Linked DNA regions of Homo sapiens: region 2 is linked to region 1. The links are contacts of gene promoters, found by promoter capture Hi-C in human tissues and cell types (Jung and others, 2019). All regions are on one chromosome and are shown on one strand. Each heading gives the region's core, a stretch centred on a gene start or on the middle of the fragment in contact. The rest is flanking DNA. Distances are from core to core; before and after follow the strand shown.

Region 1 (3,892 bases), core at 1-2,500:
CCCTGTTACCAAGGTGAGTGCAGATAACCAGCAGAGACACCTGTGAACTTGAACCCAGAAGCATACACTCTCCATCTTAAAAACACACACTCCCACCATCCTGGGAGCATGGTAAATCAGCAAAGATGGACGGTGAAAATGTCGCTTTCTCACCTCAGCCTGATATTTACCAACAAGAAGTTAATTTCCCACTGTTCCCAGATCAGTCCACATTGGGGCTAACACTTCTCCACAATGTCCAAGCAAAATCAAAAGAATCCCTGTCTCAGAAGGCATTTGTTGCTGCTGAGTCACAACTGCCTGTCTGATCATAGTCTCCCAAAATGGAGTAAACAAAGGGTTAGTTTGTCCCCTTGTTACACAGTGAAGCCCTTTGCCAAAACTGATTGTTGTATTTTCTGGACAAAATGGAGTAAACAAAGGGTTAGTTTGTAAACAAAGGGTTAGCTTGTCCCCTTGTTATACAGTGAAGCCCTTTGCCAAAATTGATTTTTGTTTTTTCTGAATTTTTGTTTTTGTAGATATTCAGCTCTCCCCAATACCTCTGCCTGCCTTGGCTGCCTGGCCACTTTTTCCAGTGTGATTGTGTATGTTCTTGCCTATTTCTAGCCATTTTCCAGTCCTGGAACATATTAAAAACAAATTGGCCTTTCCATGTAGCTCATAAGTCAGAAAAATTACCAGCAGAAGACATCTCTAGAAAGCGAGACCGTGTACTCTGAGCCCTAACAGCTACTTAGCCAACCACTTCTTCTCTGAGCTATATCAGAGCCACCTATCTCTAGCTGCCTATTTGTTCCAGAAGAATTCAACCCAGGGGAATGGTTTTGCCACCCAGGCATAGGGAAACGAGGGGGCTTTTAAATTCACAGAGATTAGAAGTCCAGACAATGCAGGAAATTCACAGATAATATCCAAAGTAGCCAACCTGCCCTCCAAAATAAAATTCTGATTTGACCCAGTGAGGTAAGCCCAGGTAAGGTGAGCTTCACTTCCTGCCAGCCGTCTCCAAGAGTCTGTTCTAGTTTCATCTGTCCAGTTTAAAGCAGGCTTCTCTTTCCACTCAAGTGTTTGGATTCCAGATTCAAAAGAAGTTTTAAAAATCAGGACTTACCTCATTTACCTAAAGATTCTGGGTGGGAAATCCAATAGCTGTGGCTGTTGGAGGGGAGGCAGCAGGCTGCAATCTCACCAGCTCCTATAGGGATGGGGCACCACGGGTGTTATCAAGTCTGAGCCCTCATCAGAGTGAAGATAAATGCATATAACAATAATTTTAAATCATTTTGTAGGATGTTAAGCAATAAGCCACCAACCGGGAATTCCCTAAGTCACTTCCCCCTCTTCTGATTGGCTACCCAGCCCTTTAAAAAAATAAAATAAAGGATTACAAACACTGGCTCATTTGCATTTGGCCAACTCACACGTTAGTGTTCAAACAAAACAGGTCTAACCAGGTAATGCCTGTGTCTCAAGAACAGAGAGACAACCTGTTAATGGATGAGGAATTGATTTGGTGGTGACTGTTCTTTTCAGCTCAGAGGCTGTTTCAGGTGAAAAGCACCCTGCTCACCAAAGACACCATCGGGAAGAGGGAATGTAAAAGCAAAGTGAGTAGAAGTCCAAATCTGGAGGAGATGATGGTATGGAGGGGCCCTCTTGAGCACCTGTCTCATTTATTAGTCTGTATTTAGTCCACCCTGCTTTGGCATCAAGATCTTTTCCCTAGCTCTATAAGTACCAGGCTCTGAAGGGGCTCCCAGCAAGTTCCCTCTCCAGGCACCATGACTGCCTTCTTGACAGAGACTCTTGGCAATTCAATGGACTTTGAAAAGCCTATCTCCCCTGGCCCCAGGTAAGAGCCTTGAGAGGTTTGAAAGGGAAGGTCCTGGGAGGGAGGGTACCTTATGAGGAGATGCTTAGGTCAAGCAGTCAACTCTCAAATATGCAAGAGCTGATTATCCGGTTGGTGGATTATCTAGGTTCTTCACTTCCTCTTGACACTTACATGATCTTTTTTAAAAGGTTTATTGACACTCCCTATAAGAGTTAGAGATGAGAAGACCAAAATGCTGAAACTGGAAATAAAAAAGCACAGTTTGGACAAGAAGAAGGTGGAATATTAGGGAGGATCTACGGATTCAAATACCCAGGCAACCTCTATTCCCTTGGGCCAAGGGACATATGGGGAGTTACCTGTACCTGCTTCACTGGGTCACAAATGTACCTTCTCCCATACGGGTGAATGACTGCTCCTAGCAAAGAAAAATACCATCCCCCAACCATTAACTTTCTCTGTTGAACCTTCCAGGACACTGGCCTGGCATGAGCAAAGTGTCTAAGCAGATTTCTTTGACTCAACGGGCCTCCCTTTTGTGGGAGAGGGAAGGGAAGTTGAGATTTGGCAGAGATAAAGATTTTGTGATCAAAACCAAGAAGTTACTTGTGTTAAAAAGAAAAAAAAAGGTCTGCTTATGGTCAAAGGCTGACTGAATAGAATAAAAACTGGTTATTATATTAAGGGGGAACAGTGAGTGTGCAGTAGTATTAGTCTTTTCTTACTTATTTTTTCTAGTTTCTACACAAATTCAGAGGTTTCTGAAAGTGTAAAAGACTCAGTGGGAAAACAAGGGTGGACTTGGGAAGGTCTTGGAAGCTGGGCAGGTCTTGAAGAAGGGCTTGAGGCTTTGGTCAGTGCAGTTTAGGGGAGTTCTAATAAATCCCTCTGCCTCCCTAACCTGCCCCAGACATTCCCACCCTTCCCAACTGTTCAACCCTGTGAACTTGCCAAGGGCCCTGTGAAAATGCAAATGTAAACCCCGCCCCATATACACACTGATAAAAACAACAAATTTCATTATTTCCCATTATCACATTAGCCCCAATTAGTCTATCAGTTCCAGATCTGAGAGCAGGGCCCTGAGGGAATGGCCTGCTGGAGTTTTGCTTGAGAGACAAATCAGGCACAACCTGAAGTAACTACATTCCACCCACTGCAGGGCATTTGTGTGTAGTGATGGTGAAGGGGGGTGGGTGGCGGGGCACTCATGAGAAAAGGGAAGCATTATTGCTAGAGCCCGTGGGACTCCAGGGAAACAAACTTGGCCTTCTTTACACCATTGCCTGAGATTAACCTGAGACAGCAGGGTGGGAGTAGAAGGGCTAGGGTTGTGTGGTCAAGAGATAGTGAACTTCAAATGCAACCACAAAAGTGATGTGGCTCTCTGACCCAGTCCCAATCACCTTTAATTATAGGCCCTGTAATTTATAGCTGAAGAATTCTGGTTAAATCTCCATTTCTTTATCCACTTGTATTTAGTCCATTTTAGATTGGAGGGCTATTGAGACGAGTCATATTGGGGTAGTGATGGTGGGAGGGGAGGGAAAGATGTCACCTCATACTCACAAGCCACTTTATTTGTGGAGGTTTTTTTGTAAATAAAGTACCTAAAAGTGTGCCTGCTACTTGCTGGGTACTTATTAAGTATTGATTCTTCTTTTTACTTGGGTCTTAGTTGAACCTTCCAGAAGAAAAACAAAAATGAAAACAATACCCCTCACCCCCAACCTAAAAAAAAAAACACAAAAAAGCTAGAATTGCAGGTATATTGCATCCATACGGAAAGTCCTTTGGAGTTTGAGGTCTTTCACCCTACTGCCAACTTCAACAAGACAGTACTGGCGATAGATAGATAGATGATAGATAGATAGATAGATAGATAGATAGATAGATAGATAGATAGATAGATGATAGATAGATAATGATGGGATGAGATGGATGTCTCAAGGCCTTCTACTACAAGTCTCAGATATATCAAGTATGTCCTTTATGGATAAGAAGTTTAAAGTGTAATCACAAAATCATCAAACACAGCAGATCCTTAATATGGAC
Region 2 (3,464 bases), core at 647-3,146, 170 kb before region 1:
TCTCTGGTCATTGCCAGAGGTCCTGGAGTGAAGGAGGTAAATTCAGCCCTGGTTGAGATAATAGACAAACTGCTTGTTGTTTCTCCGGGCTCTGGGCTTTTGCTCTCTCTGTGCCATAATGGCAAAAAACTGCCACACGGTCTGTGTGGCTCCTTAGCATGAAATAATAGGCACAAGAAGTGGTAACCACAAGGCAGCTTCCTAAAAACAGATGGAGTTTTTTAACATTGATAAATCTTTCTTTTGTATCCAGCCCCAAGCAAGCACACATTACTTTCATTTTAAGAGCAAGTTCTCTTTCTCAGATTGCTTGGTATATTCAAAACAAAACAGAAAGCCTTTGGAGTTTGGCCTCCTCCCATCTGCCTATATGTTTGCTACCCCCAGGGCAGAAGAGACAGAGGGACTAAGTTCAGAGGTTCATATACCTATGTAGTGCAGACTGATGTGAATGCTGCATCTGCTGATCTTCCCTCTCACCATCAAAGTAGAAGATTTTCTTGTGCATTTCAGGACAAGTGTGTCCCAGTGCTCATTCTAAAGGGTTTCCAACTCTGGGTTCTTAGTGTTGGTGCATTTGCATTTGAAGGGTACCCAAACCAGAAAGTTTGCTATTAGACTTCATTCCCACCACTATCATTTCAGGGTTTTGACAATGCTTCCACTTCAGGAAGCTGGACTTGGCAGAAATCAGCCAAACCTAAACTCAAGTGTTCATATAAACACCAGCTGAAGATCACAACTCATTTGTTAATTTAGTTGGAATCTATTGAGCACCTACTATGTACTAGCACTACGCCAGATGCCCAGGATATACATAGAGAAGCATACAGCCTCAGCCTTCGGCGAGCTTGTTGTGAGATAAAGGTAGAAGCCATTTCAAACAGAATGCAGTCTTTGATATAACAGGGAACCATAGAGCAACATGGAAATATGCTTCACTGTTGAAGCTTCAGTGTCTGGCTCATAGTAGAAGCTTAATATATATTTGTTGAAAGAATGTTAGAGGGGACCTGTCCTACACAAACTGAAAAGATTAAAAAAAGAGTCTTGCCAAAGAAAGTAGTACTTAGGTTTCCAAAGAAAAAGCAAGAGTTGGCCATGCAGAGAATGGAAAGGTAATTTCAGATAGAGACAGTAGCAGGTGCAAGGACGATGGCATGGGAATATGCATGATAGCTTAGGGTGGACTTCAAGGTCTGAAAGAATTGTCTGAGGAAGTGACTTCCTGGTTGTCTATTGCTGTATAACAAACTACCCCAAAACAACCATTTAGTTTTGTTTGTAATTTTGTGGGTAAGTAATGCAGAAATGCTCAGCTGGATGGTTCATCTCTCGTTTACTTGGCATTACCTACGGCCACTGGGGCTGAAGATTCACTTTCAAGATTTTTTTTCACTGACATTTCTGGTGCCTTGGTGTTTCTTGGCTTCCCTTCCTCTCTACATATTTCATTATCTCATTATCCAGGGCTCCTCCATGTGGCTTCTCATGACATGGCAGTCTCAGGGTAGCTAGTTTCCCCCAGAGTAAATAATCTTAGAGTGAGTATTTCAAGAAGCCCAGGTAAAAGCTACAAAGCCAGTGGGGCACGGTGGCTCATGCCTGTAATCCCAGCACTTTGGGAGGCTGAGGTGGGCAGATCACGAGGTCAGGAGTTCAAGACCAGCCTGGCCAACATACTGAAACCCCATCTCTACTAAAAATACAAAAATTAGCCGGGTGTGGTGGCACCTGCCTGTAGTCCCAGCTACTCTGGAAGCTGAGGCAGGAGAATCGTTTGAACCCCGGAGGCAGAGGTTGCAGTGAGCCAAGACCACGCCATTGCACTCCAGTCTGGGTGACAGAGTGACACTCGATCTCAAAAAAAAAAAAAAAAAAAAAAAAAAAGCTAGGAAGCCTTTTGTAACCTAGCTTTGGAAGTTCCAGAACATACTCCTGCATTCTTATGATCAAGCAAGTCACTGCAGCCAACCCAGATCCAAGGGGAGGGGAGTAAGAGCCCTTTACCTTAGTAGGGGAATGGCTTGCCTACAGAAGGAGGGAGGAAATTTGATTGCAGCCATCTTGGAGGAAAGCTTCCTCATGTGGGTTGCAGGGGTTGAGGAACTTGAAACTAAAGAGTCAAGCCTGAAGAACTTGGAGCAGCAAGCTAAGGAGTGAGCAAGGTACCCTGAATTCTGTGAGAAGCCATGGAAGAGTTTAGCATGTGAGTGGTCTGATGGGATCCATTTTAGAATGATCTTTCTCTGCCAGCTGTGAGAATGGAGGAAGTGGGAGAAGACTACAGGCAGGGAGGTAGCCATGAAATCTCTATAGCTTGAAAGAGCAAAAGTGACTTGAGGGACTGAAGACTGGGGATGGGAGAAGGGGTGTCATAAGTGAGACTCTGAGGAGCATTCAGTTATCTGAGGGCTCTGACACCTCTCCCAACACAACCAAACCAAACATGTTCCCTTCAAAATGAGAGAAGAAAGGCCTCATTTTCCATTCCGGGAACTGGATGAGGGGTAAATGGCAGCTGGCAACTAAGCTTGCCCTCTGTGGCTTAATGGCAACACCTTCTCAGGTTTGTTCAGAGCTGCCACTGAGGAAAACAAACAAGATTGGTGTGAAGACCATTAAAAAAAGGCCTCAGAACAAAGACTCCACTTGGCAGCTGTTGCTCAGAGCTGAGTGAAAGAAACAAAAGAGTTTGTTGAGCAAACATGAAAGGAGCCTAATTGATGCAATTAAGGTGAAATTAAATAAAGGAAGGTTTTAGCCCGAAGTTCATGGAAAATTTTTCAAAGGAGTGTCACTGGAATAGTCATTCAGGGCTTTTAAATAGAGGGAAGCACAGGATGTGGGAAATTGGCCTATTTGACCCTTGGGAATGAAGCAAATCAAGTGTGGTGATGTGGGCTACACATGTACGACTGTTTGGCCCTGGCTGCCCCATCTTGGGCAGGGAGTAGGCTGGGGTTGGGTGCGACTGGGGAGGGATGAGACAGAGGCAGCCCAGGGGGATCATCTTTAACAAGACCACAGTGTCTTGCTATCACATCACCCCATTTTATTTATTTCATAATACTACTATCTGAGAGTATCTTGTTCATTAGTCTTAGTTGTTTACTATCTGTCCTTTTCACTTCAAAACACACACACACACACACACACACACACACACACACACACACACACACACACACACAATGGAACTCTAGGTCTTCTTGGAACACAATTTCCAAGATGCCCATCTGGCTGTGTTGTCATCCCCAAATGCTGACACCCAAAAGCAAACATCTGTACCTCACACATGATCGCAAGCACTGCTCAGATGTCTCAGAACTGTGCCACAGGAAATTAATACCTGAAATCAACCCAAACAGGTCAATTTATTTAACAAACCAGTTACACAGGCCCTACTATATGCCAGGTACTCTTTCAAGCACTTTACAAATATTAACCATCTGGTCCTTGTA

The links. Contacts are between HindIII fragments. The study calls those that stand out against the background at their distance.
Region 2: a contact is called between a fragment that was not itself captured here and the fragment with the promoter of EHF in region 1, in 3 of the 25 tissues and cell types used here (IMR-90 fibroblasts, pancreas and thymus).

What each region holds. Positions count from the first base shown.
Region 1 is chr11:34,618,451-34,622,342 of GRCh38, reverse strand. EHF (ETS homologous factor) reads right to left here and starts at 1,250. Exons shown (of 9, transcript NM_012153.6): 1 at 1,115-1,250. RefSeq lists a cis regulatory region at 2,950-3,349. The HindIII fragment of the contact is 9,385 bases long and covers 1-3,892 here.
Region 2 is chr11:34,788,772-34,792,235 of GRCh38, reverse strand. All of the region lies in intron 6 of LOC102723568 (a long non-coding RNA gene), which reads right to left. Among named protein-coding and RNA genes, the nearest start is that of APIP, 130 kb to the left of the region's middle. The HindIII fragment of the contact is 3,027 bases long and covers 383-3,409 here.